Regions from separate parts of the Homo sapiens genome. Here region 2 is linked to region 1. Evidence: promoter capture Hi-C in human tissues and cell types (Jung and others, 2019). All regions are on one chromosome and are shown on one strand. Each heading gives the region's core, a stretch centred on a gene start or on the middle of the fragment in contact. The rest is flanking DNA. Distances are from core to core; before and after follow the strand shown. Region 1 holds the start of TEX22 (testis expressed 22). Region 2 holds the start of JAG2 (jagged canonical Notch ligand 2).

Region 1 (7,745 bases), core at 172-2,671:
TTCCAGTTTGGGGAATCACAGCAGAGCCTCTCCCACTATTTTGTTTTGGTCAACTTTCAGTGACAAATCCTTCTCCTGACAGCTGCCCCACCTGGTTGGGAGGACACCACCCCCCCTGGGGACCTTGCTTTCCCTCCCGCTTCTTGCCACCTTCAGCCTGGGGTGGGAGGCACTGGGGAGAGCTAAGGGAAGTGTGTTGCCTTGCCTCCTTCCTGGCCTTGGAAGACCTCTCTACAGAGCCCAGCGGCCCACGGTTCTGGAAGCAAGAAGGGTGCAGGTCCACCTTGGTGCTCGTCCAGGGCCATGGGGAAGAGAGCCTCCTGAGTCCAGCCATCTGTTTCTCATCAGTCCCCACTCAGCCCTCCCCTGAGGCTGCTCATCACGACCAGCCTGGAGTTTTCAGAGACAGCGGCCTCAGGCGGGCTGGGGACAGGAGAGTAGCCTCGGCCAGGGTTTCCTTCCGCTTACCCAGTCCTGAGTCTGCAGTCCCTGCTGAACGCTGCTCTGGATACTGGGCTGGCCCCAGGCTGCTATCAGGCCCAGTGGGGGCCGCCTGTGCTCTTGGGAGAGGTGCGACTCCAGCTTCTTCCCCCGGGGGGACAGTTTCCTGCTGTCCATCTCTAGCCCTAGTAGGCTGCTTGTCCACACCTCTGAGATCTGGGGGTAGGAGCAGGGGGAGGTGGGGCGGGGCCCACAAGGCCACCCACGTGCCCACCAATACCTGAGTCCCTGGGGGCAGATGGTGGCAGTATCGCGGTCTGCTAGGGTCACCTTCCAGCCAAAGGTCAGGCATCACTGACCCCTCTGGGTGGAGTGGATCCCCCAGCTCCCGCCGCAGCTCTTCTCCACACCAGCCTCCCGAACTGTCCTCTCTGCCCCTGCCGACCCCACCCCGGGAGCCTGGAAAGCCTTCGGCAGCCTGCTGCACGGACTCCACGCCTCTGCCAGCCTTCTCAAACGTTCCAGGGGCATCAGCCCTCAGCCAGCACTGCGGGCACGCTCTCAGGGCCCGGCCTTGCTACGCCCGGGGCGAAGGAAAGGCCCAGAGCTCTTGCCACAGCCCCGCTTCCGACCCTGAGACCTCCCCTCCACGCGGCCCAGGCCTCGCCCCAGGCCCAGCCCGGAGCCCTTACGTGCCCGCCCTCTCCGGTGGGGAGGCGGGGTCTGCGCGGCCGGGGTCCGCGGAGGGACGGGGGAAGAAGGCTCAGGACACACGCTGGAGGCCGTGGGCACTCTGGGGTTCGGCGGGGGGGCGGGGTACACGGGAACGGCGGTCGGAGGTGGGGGGTACGTGGGCACCCGGAGACAGAAGGAGGGACAGACCCGCCGCGGATGGAGAGGCCACAGGGGGCCGCTGGAGTACACCGCGGCTTGAGGGGGCCCAAGGGGCCGGCGCCTCGCTCCAGAACGTCCGCTACGGCAAGCCCCGCCCCCACCGGTTCCGCTTCCGGTCTGCGCCGCGCCTGCGTTCTGGGCTCCGTTGCGGCGGGTGGGGGATGGGCGCGGTCTGGGGGTCCCCGGCGCATATCCGGGTCTATGGCCGCTACCGCCCCACGGGCCCTTCCGGGCGTCGGCCTCCGGGGTCTCCCGAAGCACAGACCTGAACTTGGGGTTTGTCGGCCAGAGCCCCTTTCGGCCCTGCGCCCTTCAAGCGGCGCGATGCCGCTGAGCCCCGGGCCACCTCCGCGCGCGCGGGGCCGCAGGGCTGGGGCGGGGCGACCCAGGACGGGGCGCGCGGGCGGGAGGGAGGCGCTGCTCCGCCGCGTGCTCCCAAGGGGTGGACGGCCGAGAGAATCACACTGCAGGCGGGGGCCGGCCCCTCCAGGTTTATTAGTGTTGCATCAGCACCTTGAAATAGTCCACACGGTCACATACGTGACATTAGAATCCGTTCCCCAAAAAGCTATTTACATTAATCCAGGGTTTCATTAAAAAAAACTAGCAACACATACATCCTAGAAACCAAACAATGCACAATGAACCGCATGGGGGTCTGCAGAAACTACAGTGGTGCTTCTTTGGCCCACAGGGTCAGATTCCAGAGGTGCCCAGCAAGCCCAGCTCTCAGTCCCCTACAGGCCACACACCCGCGGACGGCAGGACAGGTCTCGGGGAGGGGGCGGCCTGGCCCTCGGAAGAAGTGGCCTGGTCATTTTCATGAGGAATTCATTCCCGGAGGAAGGCGAGAGGCACTCAGGTCTTTCCATCTGGGAATGAGGACAGTGTGGCAAGGCTGCCAGTACCCTGCAGAGACACCCCCAGCTCTCACCCAGAGGCCCCTCTCCTGCCCCAGCTCTGGCCGAGGCACTGAACCAGGACACTGGCTTGCATGCCCAGAGACAGTGGCCAAGGGGACCAACATGGAAGAGGAAGGCAGCAGACCAGATTGCAGGGCGGGACTGGCCCACAGCTGGCCTGGGTGAGGGTGGGGTCTGTCTACGTAATAGTGGACAGTGGCCACCAGGCCTGAGGGGTGCCTCGGTGGTGACTGGTGGCTTAACCTTTGAGACTGATGGGGCTGAGCCCTAGCTCTACAAGGGGCTGCCTCCTGTCCTGTGAGGCCAGTCCAGGGCCAGGTTCTCGGGGGGTGTGCACACCTCACACACACATCCCCCGCCCTTACCGCACTGGCTGTCAGATGGCTTTGGTTTCTAGTTGTCCTTGGTGGGACAGAGTGCTCCTCCATGCACCCTCAGAACAGCTCTGTGAGGTAGGCAGGGAAAATGCGACCATCCTGTGTAACCAGTGGGAAAACCGAGGCACAGAGGGCTGGCATGGCCCAGGTCTTGTCTGCCCAACCTCCCTGGTGCTGGGCATGGTGTGGGGGATGGACCGTGGGGCTCCTGGGTGCAGGGCAGACCCACAGCCCAGCAGCAGCAGGGGCACAGGGAGTGCCACCAGAACCCCCAGCTGCTGGATGGAGACTCTGCCCATGTTCTCCCCTTGCGTGGCTAAGGATGGAGCTGTGCAGCCAGATGGGAGGTACGGGGTAGGCAGGAGGGCTCCAGGAAAGGGGCTGCCCACAGCCAGGATGCACTAGGCAGCCTGTGGCCCCTTCCTCTAAAACCTGCTCTGAGGCCAGAAAGCCACAGCAAGGATGTTTCCACCTTCATCTCCCTACTGAGTGTGACCCTTGGGAAAGAAACAGGAAGAGCAGGCAGGACGCGGTGACTCACGCCTGTAATCCCAGCACTTTGGGAGGCCGAGGCGGGTGGATCACTTGAGGTCAGGAGTTCAAGACCAGCCTGGCCAACATGGCAAAACCCCATCTCTACTAAAAATACAAAAAAAATAGCCAGGTGTGGTGGCACACGCCTGTAATCCCAGCTACTCGGGAGGCTGAGGCAGGAGAACTGCTTGAACCTGGGAGACGGAGGCTGCAGTGAGCTGAGATCATGCCACTGCACTCCAGCCTGGGCAACAGAGCAAGACTCCATCTCAAAAAAAAAAAAAAAAAAAAAGAAAAGAAACTGGAGAGCAGAAAAACAGATGCTCTGCAGCCCAGCTTGGGGGCAGCTGAACGAGTCAGTCAGGGTCCCACCTGTTGCCGGGGTCAGAGGCCATCAGCCCGGGGCTCACACCCTCACCGCAGACACTTCTCGGGGCAGAGCCTGAAGCCAGGATTCAATGGGAGACCTTCCTACCCTCTCCCCCACCCTGGGGTGTGCCCCAGGCTCCTGGTCCCAGGTGAAGGAGGAGTCCCTGGTGTGGAGGGGCTCTGGCTGGGAGGGGCTGGGGCTCTGCCTCCTGCACACAGGCTACCTCTGAGGCCTGAACCCAGGGAGCTGAGGCTGCACACCAGGCCACATCCTGGCCCCTCACCACAACAAAATCACCCTGTTCAGCCACCTGGGGGGGGCGGCCAGGAAGAGCAGGGCGGTCACAAGTAAGAAATGTGGGCCATCTCTCAGGCCAGCAAGGGTGGAGACCCCTCCAGCCCCGGCTCGAGGCCCACCCTGCCCTGCGTTTGCTTTCTGAGCATGGCCTTTTGCAGTGCTCCATCTTACGAAACCAGGCCAAGAGCCCCCAGGGTCGATCAGGACCCCTGGGAGGGCCCCAGCTTCCCCAGCTCCTCCTATGGAGACCCCACAGTGCAGGCTTACTGGGGAGAAGCAGGACTGAGGGGGCAGGTGTGGTCAGGGAAGCCCTCTCCTGCTGTGTGGAGGGCATGGAACCCACACACAACATGGGACCCAACACGCTCTGAGGACTGTGGCCTGGAGAGCCTCCCAGGCCCTGCACGGGGTACCTGGCTGCACCCACGGCTCCAAAGTGCCGGCCCCGCTGGTCAGGCCATCCCGCTGGAATCTTCATTGGCTACAGCGTTGCAGCAGGTGACACAAACACATCTGGACGCCTGCCCCATATTCACCAAAACCTGAATCTCAACCCAGATATCCCCATGGCTGACCTCAGACATACCCACTGGGGTGGAGGAAGTGGCCCCCACCTCAGGCCAACCCCAGCAGCATCTCACTATGTACCAAGCTGGGCTCTGGAACATTTTCTGGGGCCACCTGGGCTGTGGAGGCCCCTGTGCTTGCTAAGTTTGGGGCAGGGACTACACGCAGAAGCCTCATGGTGTTTCAAGAACAGCCTGAGAGTGGGGAAGGTGTGAGGCGGGGTGGGGCAGGGGCTGGGGAAGTGGGGGCAGGCTCTGCTGGCTCTGCCCAGCCCCAGGGGGACTTCAGAAGAGCAACATGTTTGGCAGCTACATTAGAACATGTATTGAAAAGCATTAAAAATATCTGCTGCTATAAAACCTCCGCCGCAGGCAGGAGTTTATTGGGAACCACGAGTGTGCGGTGCTGGGGGCATCTCTTAGGCGGGCAGGACGGCCCCCCCAGGCTCAACTCAGGACAACCCCAACGGGACTGAGCGGCCCCATGGCCCTCGGCCTGTGGCCACTGAGCTCCGCCTTCCCCGGGCTCCCTGAGGAAGCAGAGTCCTGACTTCCAGGAAGGACAGGACACAGAGGCAAGAACTCAGCCTGTGAGGCTCTGGGTGGCTCCTGAGGCCAGAGGACGCCTTCCGCGATCCATGGCTCAGCATCGTCCTTCTGGCTTCCCAGCCCCGGGCCGAACGTTCGGGTTAATAAGCAGAGCAGTTATTCGGCTCCTGGCAGGAGCTCCCCCGTTAGTTTCCACGTTGTGAGCACATTCATACTTAAGACTGTTTCTCTTTGTGTTTTAAGCGTCTGTCTCTGTAGTAAACTGAAATGTTAACAGAAATGCAGCTGGGCCCCTCACAGCATGGGGCAGGAGGTGGGCCCCCTGGTGGGTGGGGCTAGAAGGTGGCCTTGGAGTGTCCGAAGATGCAGATGGGGAAGTGCTTCACGTGCGAGGACCACTGCGCGGCCAGCTGGAAGAACTTGACGTCGCTGCACTCCACGCCGTCGATGAGGACTGTGGGAGAGGGCTGCCTGACCGCCTGCCCCCCTGCCCGGCCTGCCCACCCTATCCACCTGCCTGCCTGGCCCACCAGGCTGGGTGGCAGCCGGGCGTACAGGATGAGAAGGAGCCCCATGCTGGAGGGCATCAACACTTTCCTCAGGGACTCGGGGGCTCCAGGGCCATGCTGGCTCCTGAGGGACGCCATTCCTGCCCCTGCCCTCCACACTCAGAGCCCTGGGGGGTGGGGAGGGCAGCATTTCCCCCAGGGCTGCCTGCAGGTGGAAGGAGCAGACCCCACCACCTTCCGCCAGGCGCTGCTCGTCCACATCCACTTCCACCTGCACAGGTGTGGGAAGAAGACAGTGGGAGCCCCCTTAAAACAGAGACCCCTGTGGGGAGACAGGGCCACGTCGACCTGGAGGTCATCTGACCCGTGCTCAAAAAGAGGAAAGCCTCCCAGAGCTCCGTTTCTGAAACAGTTACTTGCAGAGTATCTTCTCCAAAACCCCTTTTTTTTTTTTTTTTTTTGAGGCGGAGTCTTGCTCTGTCACCCAGGCTGGAGTGCAGTGGCGCAATCTCGGCTCACTGCAAGCTCCGCCACCCGGGTTCACGCCATTCTCCTGCCTCAGCCTCTGCGCTCAGCCAACACTTTTAAACTACAAGCCATTATTTTTAGGCCAGGTGCGGTGGCTCGCGCCCATAATCCCAGCACTTTGGGAGGCCGAGGCAGGCAGATCACCTGAGGTCAGGAGTTTGAGACCAGCCTGGCCAACACGGTAAAACCCCATCTCTACTAAAAATACAAAAAATTAGCCGGGCGTGGTGGCACGCGCCTGTAATCCCAGCTACTTGGGAGGCTCAGGCAGGAGAATCGCTTGAACCTGAGAGATGGAAGTTGCAGTGAGCTGAGATCACACCATTGCACTCCAGCCTGGGTAACAAGAGCAAAACTCTGTCTCAAAAAAAAAAAAACCAAAACAAAAAACAAACAAGAAAAACGAAACAAGTCATTATTTTTAAAAAGCAAAAAGGGTTGAAAAAAAATTCTTTCTCAGCATTTGGAAGGTTGTCAGCCTCACTGAGGGCTTCATCGAATGTGCTTGCACCTTGAATCGTGGAATGTGCGTGTCACAGCGAGACACCCGCAGCTCCTAGGCTGGGCTCCAAAGCAGCCTTGCTGTGCTCTCACCTACGTCCCACTCTACAGACCCCGGGGCCGGTGGTGCTCACCCCGCAGCATGTTCTGCTGCTGCCTGGCAGTGCAGATGAGCCGGCTGATGCCCTCAATGCACTGGCTCTTAGACTCCACGTCCTTGTCCTTCGCTTTCTTGGGCAGAAACATCACTGGGAGGAGAAAAGAGGCCCTGCTGTCATCTTGCTGCTCCTTCGGGGCTGGGGCCAGGGCCAGGGGTACGTGTGGGGGAGGCACTGGGGGCTCAGCTGGTCATGGCACTGCTCACCTAGGAAACCTGCCTTCCACGGTGACTGAGGACAGCTGCTCTCCTGCCCACCCAGCTGGCCTCCGCCTGAGGCTCTGGTCAGAAGCACCTGACCCTCACTGCCCTCAGGATTCAGGCTCCCTCACCCCACCCGCCCCTGCCTGCGCATGTGGGCTGCCCGAGGCCAGCCCGGGGGCTGTCATCCCTGTTGACTGCGAGCCGCCCTCTCCCACAGAGCCGCCCTTCTGCGCCGTGTGGCCTTATAGCCTGCCCCACCTCACCCTTCTTGTTCTTCTCCTTGGTGACCACGGTCATGGACATGGTGGGCGTGGCTGCAGCCTCGCCGCTGCTGGGCAGCCTGCTGACCTGGAGGGACCGGAAAGTGCACTTGAGCGTGTTTTTGGTGACAGGCAGGTCCTTCTTCTCGGCGTCCCTCTTCCTGTCCGCAGGCTGTGCTGCCGTCCAGTAGTCCACCTGCAGCCCCATCAGCTCGGCGCCGACACCCTGGCTGGGAAAGGCAGAGGGAGGCATTCACACCTGCATCTTTGGGCCTAGTGATGGGGACATCACTGTCCCTGTGACAGGCCAGGAGGTGACAGCCAGCACCTGTGCCAACTTGCCAGCAGAGGAGGGCCGGGTGCTTGGAGCATGCTCTGTGGAGCTGTTCACATGCCCAGTCACCCCCACAAGGGTCCTGCTTAAATTACAGGGACCCTGGCGACAGGAGAGCCTCGGCCTGGGAGGCCTGTCCACCTGCTCTCCAAGCTGCCCCTTGGAGTCGTGAGGGCCCGTGCGAACCAGCTCCCTCAGGCGCAGCCTGGAAGGAGCCGGCGGCTGGAAACACAGAGGCAGGGGGGTCGGGGGGGTATCTGCTGGTGTGAGCCCTGCACGCAGCACCAGCACCACGCCTGGC
Region 2 (7,745 bases), core at 2,512-5,011, 230 kb after region 1:
CTGGGGCAAGTGAGGGGTCCCCACCCTGACTGGGGCTGGGCTAGAGCCACTCCACAGGAGCCCGGAGCCAAAGCTGCCCTGTGTCGGGGGCCCCAGTAGCTGATCCGTGCACCCCCAGCCTTGGAAGTTTTCCAAGGGACCTTCCTCGGCCTGTGGGGTATGCAGAAATGTCTGCAGGCTTGCTCCAAGAGGAGCAGGTGGCGGCACAGGGTGGGGACACAAGGCCAGTGGTCTTGACATGGGCCAGGTTCCTGGTGCCAGCCCGGTCCTGGTCCCGGGGCACGGCCTCAGCCTGGGCCGCCCAGCACCAGGCTCTACTGGCCCCTGAGCATCTCTGGCCTGTATGCCCTGGCCTTGCCTTCTGACCTGTCCTGAGGGTGGGGCTGTGGGAGATGCGTGCAGCTCAGAGCTGCTCCCCAGGTGCCCAGAATGCTTGTGAGGCAGGAGGGGACCCAGCTCGCCTGGTCTGCTTCCTGGGCCACAGGTGCACAGTAAGGGTTCTGCAGGTGAATGGGTGTGTTGGCACTGGTTGTGGGCATTCGAGGGCACTGCTGGGCCATCAGTCTGCGGCAGGATCGATCCGCTCCTGGACATCATTAGGTCCAGGCTGTGGCTCCCAGGAGGAAAGTAGAGAAGGGGACAGTGAAGTGAAGGGAGCCTCAGTACCCTGCAGGGTGGAACCCTGGGCAGGGAGGTGGAGACTGACCCCCTGTTGTCATCCAGCACAGTGCTGGACAGCCTGGCATTGGAGGCTGTCCTGAGGAGGCTGTGCCTCAGGGGCCCACAAAAGCAGTGCCACCTGTATGCAAATGCTGGCTGTGGCCCAGGTGGGGCCCTGTGGGCATCAGCAAGGCCAGCGACAGGGCTGCCGGGGAGGGGCTGTCAGGTATGGGGTGTGTGCCAGGGAGGGGCTGCCAGGTATGGGGTGTGCGGGTCTTGGCCAGCCTCAGCTTCACTCTACCCAGATGAGGCCCCAGCAGGACATTCACAGGACAGGAGCTCTGCCTGACCCACAGCAGCCTTGCTGTGCTGCCCTTACCAGCAGCCTGCCTGGTGACACCACGAGAGTGCGATGGGCCCTCCGGGTTGACCAGCAGAGGCCTCCCACTACCTCAGAGGGACCTCTCGCAGGCACCAGGTGGGTCTGGCCCCTGAAGCACTGAGGGGACAGGTGACAGGGCACCCGGACCTGGGTGTAGTCCAGCCCCTCACTTTGCTCCGCAGCCCGATGGGGTGGGTCAGCAGGCAGTGCTGCCGGGCCTAATGGAGCTGGCATTGATTTCCCGGCACTGGAGGGGGGGTTGTAACCGGAAACTCCCCTCCCCGTCTGCTATATTTAGCACTGCAGGACCCAGCGGAAGCACAGCTTACTCTGGAGCCTCGCCGGCTCTGTCCAAACCCCTGGCAGCCCGTCCTCAGCCTGGTCCCCAGGACTGCCCTATGGGCCCAGAGCCCCTGGCCAGGCTGAGCAGCTGCACCCTTGCCCTCTGCATACAAGCTGGGCACCGCCCAGCGCTCAGAGTGGGAGCCCTCCAGGCTGGGGGACGGGTGGCTCTGGGAGGCTGGAGGGTGCTGTGGTCCAGTGGGCCCCAGAACAATGACGAGGTCCCTTACTAGAAGAGACCAGGTAGCCTGGTCTGGTGAGGGTTGGGGCTGGAGCCCTGGCCGCCACTGATCTCAGCCCCTCACCCCAGCAAGGTGCAGCAGGGGGCAAATGTGTTTTGTGAAATATGTATGAGGGGCGAGGGTTCCCACTGCTGCCTTCTGGAAACTCAAACCAGGGTCCAGCTGCCTGGCATTTCTGGCTCAAGGGCTGCTGAAATTCCTGCAGGGAAGGGACCCCCTCTCCGATGCCTCCTATGTCCCCCTCCTTCCTAAGGGCAGGTGCGGCCACCTTCCTGACCTGGGTGCTCTCATGGACATCGTGAGGTCTGGCTGACCCATGCCCGTCCACGCTCTGGCGGCCCCCTATGCCAGCTTCTGTATGACTTGTCTAAGTCCTCTGTCCACCCCCGGGCTGGGGGCTCCTGAGGGTGTGCAGGGGCGGAGTCTCCCTTGTTCACCACTTGGCCAAGTGCCCAGCAGAGGCACCCAGCACCCCCTCCCCCACCATAGTGGGGCAGTGGGCGCAGGTGGGGATGGAGCCCTGGGCCTCTGGAGCCGGGCAGGGGGCTTCTCTGTCCTGGGGCTTCCCTCTCTCGAGTACCCGAGTACCTGCCCCCAGGCCAAAGCACAGGAGAGGTGGCATCTCCACAGGGAGCCCCTCCCCCCGTAGGCGGTAATCACCGCCCACACACCGGAAGGCGGCAACTGGAAGGCTCTGAACACAGCTTGGATTCTCTTGTTTGGTGGGGGTCTCTGTGCGGGCCTCATCCTGGCTTGTGTCTTAATCCCCACGAAGCCTACCCACCACCAAGTTTGGGGTGGGCACTCTGAGCAGAGCCAGCTGAGGTGGGCATGGGGGGCTCCCACCCACCCCTTTAGGGACCTTCAGCTGAGCCTGCGGCCTGGATCCTGGAGGAGCTGCTAAACAGGGATGGAGCAGGCAGACCCTGCGCATGGGGTGTTCACAGGCCCTGTGCCTCCAAAGCTCTCTTCCTTCAGCCCTCAGCCCCAGCAGCATGGTGGCAGTGACTTGCTCCAGGCTGGGGGGCTGCACAGCCACCCAGCTCCGGGCACAGGGCAAATTTGCGAGAGGAGCTAGGGGGAGAGAAGACAGCTCAGTTATCATGGGGATGGGTTGAGGACCCCTCTGGACCATATGGGGATCTTTAACCACCAAGGTGACCCCTAGCTCTGGAAAGGACCGTGCTCACTGGAGGAGAGGAAGGTGCCATTGGTTTTGACCCTGTGGAGGAGCTGCGAGGTCACCCAGGGAGAGGGCAAGGAGGTGACCGCAGAGGATGGGGTGTGGAAGCCTGGTGACCAGGGCAGCAGTGGGAGGCCTCTCTCGGGGTAGCCTTCAGGGACAGGCACTGCCGACTTTTGTTCCCCATTTCCCGCCTCTCGCCCCCCAAGCCCAGACCTGAGTTTGGGGGGCGAGAGGCGGGAAACGGGGAATGTGGCCTGAGCATTTCCTGAGGGCATGGCCTGGCTACCTCGACGCCAGCGCCGAGCTGAGCAGTCTGCACCCTGGAGCATTTGTTGACTGGCTGCTTGACCAGCGCGCCTCGCAGAGGGGAAGGCAGGGGCGTCGGAGGGGCGCAGCGCCCCCTGCAGCCGGCGTGGAGGCGGTAGGAGCGGCGCGGAGAAGGGGAGATTCTCGGAGGAGGTGGGGGGCGCGCAGTAGGGGCTGGGCCCGGCTCTGGCCCCAGGGCCGCGCCACCCCGCGTGGGGGCCGAGCCCTGATCAGAGTAGGAGGCGGCATCTCCTCTGGGACTGCGAGGAGCGCGGCGGTGGCGCACTGATGGGAGGGGACCACACGGCAACCTCGGGGCGCCCCACCCCCGGTTTCTGACACCCGGCAGGAGCCCAGGCGGAGGAGGGGAGGCAGCTTTGCGGCGCCGGCGCACGCCTCGCCGACTCACGCGGAGGTGTGAGCGGGGCCCCCGCGGCCCGCGCTGACCCCGAGGCCCCGTGCCCCCGCCGCCCGGGCGCCCTGGGGGGCGCGCGCCGGGCCGGGGCGCTGGCAGGCGACGCCCTCCACCGCCTTTAAAGCCTGGGGCGCCCCCGGACCCCCCCCCGGCCCCACCCCGCGGCGCGGCCCCGCCCCCTCATGCATATGCAGGTGCGCGGGTGACGAATGGGCGAGCGAGCTGTCAGTCTCGTTCCGAACTTGTTGGCTGCGGTGCCGGGAGCGCGGGCGCGCAGAGCCGAGGCCGGGACCCGCTGCCTTCACCGCCGCCGCCGTCGCCGCCGGGTGGGAGCCGGGCCGGGCAGCCGGAGCGCGGCCGCCAGCGAGCCGGAGCTGCCGCCGCCCCTGCACGCCCGCCGCCCAGGCCCGCGCGCCGCGGCGCTGCGCTCGACCCCGCCCGCGCCGCCGCCGCCGCCGCCTCTGCCGCTGCCGCTGCCTCTGCGGGCGCTCGGAGGGCGGGCGGGCGCTGGGAGGCCGGCGCGGCGGCTGGGAGCCGGGCGCGGGCGGCGGCGGCGGGGCCGGGCGGGCGGGTCGCGGGGGCAATGCGGGCGCAGGGCCGGGGGCGCCTTCCCCGGCGGCTGCTGCTGCTGCTGGCGCTCTGGGTGCAGGTGAGCGGGGCGGCGGGGGCGGCGGGGGTCGCGGACGGGGCACACCGGGCCGCCCCTAGGGGCCGGGCGGGCACTGCCTGGGGCCGCCGTGGTTCGGAAGCCCTCGAGGCTGCGCGCGGCGGCTGGGGCTCCGGGCGGGCGCGGCTGGGTGGGGGCGGGGCGGCGGGGCCTGTTCCCCCACCCCTGGCGCCCGGCCCGCCGACCCCGGCCCGCGCCTCCCTCCGCTCTCCCGCTGCCTTATTTTTAGGCGGCGCGGCCCATGGGCTATTTCGAGCTGCAGCTGAGCGCGCTGCGGAACGTGAACGGGGAGCTGCTGAGCGGCGCCTGCTGTGACGGCGACGGCCGGACAACGCGCGCGGGGGGCTGCGGCCACGACGAGTGCGACACGTACGTGCGCGTGTGCCTTAAGGAGTACCAGGCCAAGGTGACGCCCACGGGGCCCTGCAGCTACGGCCACGGCGCCACGCCCGTGCTGGGCGGCAACTCCTTCTACCTGCCGCCGGCGGGCGCTGCGGGGGACCGAGCGCGGGCGCGGGCCCGGGCCGGCGGCGACCAGGACCCGGGCCTCGTCGTCATCCCCTTCCAGTTCGCCTGGCCGGTACGTGCGCTCCATCCCTCGTGCTCCAGCCCTTCCCTCTCTCTCCGCGCCCCGGCCCCGCGCGCTTCGCGACCCCCAACACCTGCGGCCGGGTCTGCGTGCGAGCCGCGCGCGCCCAGGCGGGGCGGGGCCGGCAGGGGGCGCGTGCTCTGGGGACTTGGTCCGCGCCTGGCCACGTGGGCGCGCCGGGGCCCCGGGGCCACCGGGAGCGGGGTCGCGGCGGGGGCGGGGCGGCGGCGTCCCGCGTGCGCGGCGGTGTGCGGCGTGTGCCTGCGTCGCCCTGCGCGTGTCTGTCTGGGTGGGGAGGCGAGGCGAGGCGCCCCGGTCCCGGGCAGGCCGCGGTGGCATGTGCGCAGCGCGTGCTGGGGCTGGTCTAGGGCAGGCCCTGACTGAGCCGCCCCGGGCCCGTGGCCAGCCTGCGCCTGCCCTGCAGTTTCCTGGATGCCTGGGGGGCACGGGCGGGCGCCGTGGGACCTAGGCCCGGGAGAGCCTAACGCCTAACGCTTATGTCGGCAGAAGCCCCCGATGGTGACCCAAGATCGTTCAGAGACAGAGATAGTGGATCCTGGTGCAGTGACCTTCTGTGGCACTGCCCTGTTTGTGGGTTTTTTTGGTTTTGTTATTCTGGAGGGGCAGAAGCTGAGTCGGGGCTGTCTGGTCTCCCCTGGCAGGTGGCCAGTCAGGCAGGAGCCCTGGCCTGGGCGTGCTGGGAGGAGGGGTGGTAGGGGTCCAGTGTCACTGGGAAACAGGTACTCATCCCAGTGGGCTGGCAGGTGGGTAGTGGTAGGTGGGCAGGCCCAGGCCTCGGGCGCCTTACCTCATTGCCTGGAGCACGGCCTTGCCCTGGTGCCCAGAGGTCCTTCCCTGCTTGGTCATTGTGCTGGGGGCCTGGAACTGGGTGAGTGCGGGAATGAGAGCACCATGCAGACCTGTGATCAGGGAGTAGATGGATCTGGGAGCCAGGAAGTGGCTCCAGTCAGCAGGAGGCACCGGAGTGTGCCCACCTGGTATCCTGGGCCCTGAAGTGATTGTGAGTTGAGGGCAATCCCTGCCGAGCTCACGCCAGTTGGGCCTGCCGTGTGTGGCTCCCAGTCCTGTGCTGTACCTTTGCAGCCCTGGCTGGCAGCCTTGCCTGCTGCCCCCATCCTCACCGCTTCCTGAGCTCCCACCCGTGGAAGCTGGCCACAGTCTCCTCTGGCCATGTCCTCAACCCGTGAGCACCCCGCCGAGTATCCCTTGACCAGGGGGGCCCCAGAGAGGGGAAAGTGTCCCCCAGATGGAAAAGGCAGGGGCGGGCATGGGAGGGCCCAGGCAGTTGTGAGAAGCCCAGCCCCTCGCCCCCACGGCGGTGCAGCAGGCAGGTCTGAGCAGGGCCCGCAGCCTGTCATCTGCACCTGGGCCTGAGCCAGCGTGGCCCCACATCGCTACCTGAGGATGTGTTTTCTGCTCGAGTTGGCAGCAGTGGGTGTGGGGGCAGGGAGGTCTTGGAGGAATGTGGCGGGCTATCGCGTGTCCGCCCTGGCTCTTCGCCCCGCGGGCCAGCCGGTCAGGTGTGGGATGGGACCGGGTAGGCCCTTGCCTTCCTTGGAGTCCGGGCACTGGGTTTCGGGGCCAGCTCACCTCCCTGCCTCTTGCTTCCAGCCGGTTCCTCGAATGCCCCAGGAGGGGGCAGGCGGCCTGTCTCTGGGTTGGGGGCCAGGGCAGAGTCATAGCTGCGTGTTTGGGGGCAGCCCTGGTCTCCTGCCATGTGGCCTGGCTGCCGGGCGGGAGCTGTGCCGTGATGCCAGCACCCTGGTATTTGCACTCGGGCGGCGGCAGTCCCTGGCCATGCTGCCCTGGCTTGCTGAGGTCCAGCTCTGTGCGGTGAGCTGAGGTGTACTTGGCTGTGATGGGAAGGCAAGGACCGAGTTCAGGCTCCCTGGGACCTGAGGAGGGGTTTCAGCCTGGAGGCTAGGGTGGCATCCTGCCCAGGCCCGTGGGGCTTTTGGGCTCCTTGGAGTAAAGGGAATGAGAGGGCCTTGTGGAAGAGGAGTGGGGGAGTCTGGGCTCTGCATTCGCTCCCTCCACCCCCTGCCCCCTGAGTGACTCTCCCACCTTGTGGTCTCTGCTGTTGACCCAGGCCTGGCTGGGTGGCCCTCTGCCCCCTGGCCTGGCTTCTTGTGGCCGGGGTCTGTGTGCTATTAGTCATGGATCTGTGCTGGTCTCGGGCTCAGCTTCCCTCAGTGGGTGGGCCCAGGGTCTTGAATGTGGAGAGGTGGTGGACCACATGCCAGCAGGCTGCCTGGCTGCCCCTCCTCTCCTGGCTCCACCCCCAGACGTCCCCAGGAGGCCGGTGTCAGCCTGGGTTGGTTCTGGTGCCTGGCTTGTAGCTGGCAGGGTGAGGCCACATTCTCCCAGCTGCGTGTGTGCACGCACCCCGGGTGCTCTGTAGGCATGGCAGGTGGTGATGGAGGTTTGGGGAGGAGTAGTGTCATGCTGGGGGCAGCAGGGAGCTTTGCTCTGGGGCCTGGTAGGTGGCAGGCCCAGGGGACACCTGCTGGCTGAGGGAGGAGCAGGGTGGTGGCAGTTGGCCGTGACCTGGGCAGCCAGGGCCCCACCCTCAGAGGTGCAGCTGGAAGTCGTGCCTGCCTGGCTGGCCCATCTCTGGAGCCAGGAGCCCAGGAGCCTGCCTGCCAGCGAGGGTCTTTCTTGTTCTGTCTTGGCATGTGTGTGCTGGGCTCCAGGGCAGCTGTGCGGGGTGGTGTGGCTGGAGCATGGTCCCCGTGACAGATCTGGGCTTATGAGGAGAACGGGATGGGTGAAGGCCCTGTAGATACAGGAGGTGGGCCTGGGGCTGACCCTGCGTCTATCAGCTCAGGAGGCCTGAGGTCCTGGGCCATCAGAAGGGCTGAGCTTTTCTCACCTGTGAAAGGGGCACACTGCCGCTTTTTCATTGCAGGTCTCACGAAGTCAGATGGGGCTGCTG

Evidence for each region. Contacts are between HindIII fragments. The study calls those that stand out against the background at their distance.
Region 2: a contact is called between the fragment with the promoter of JAG2 here and the fragment with the promoter of TEX22 in region 1, in 1 of the 25 tissues and cell types used here (H1 embryonic stem cells).

Annotation. Positions count from the first base shown.
Region 1 is chr14:105,392,214-105,399,958 of GRCh38, reverse strand. TEX22 (testis expressed 22) reads right to left here and starts at 1,421. Exons shown (of 4, transcript NM_001195082.2): 1 at 1,324-1,421; 2 at 469-657. The coding sequence starts at 618. It overlaps PACS2 (phosphofurin acidic cluster sorting protein 2), which reads right to left. Exons shown (of 25, transcript NM_001100913.3): 23 at 7,114-7,340; 24 at 6,624-6,737; 25 at 1,812-5,405. The coding sequence ends at 5,287. RefSeq lists enhancers at 310-820, 821-1,331 and a silencer at 999-1,908. The HindIII fragment of the contact is 31,919 bases long and covers 1-7,745 here.
Region 2 is chr14:105,164,792-105,172,536 of GRCh38, reverse strand. JAG2 (jagged canonical Notch ligand 2) reads left to right here and starts at 3,761. Exons shown (of 26, transcript NM_002226.5): 1 at 3,761-4,182; 2 at 4,430-4,780. The coding sequence starts at 4,117. RefSeq lists enhancers at 1,055-1,891, 4,540-5,039. The HindIII fragment of the contact is 20,950 bases long and covers 1-7,745 here.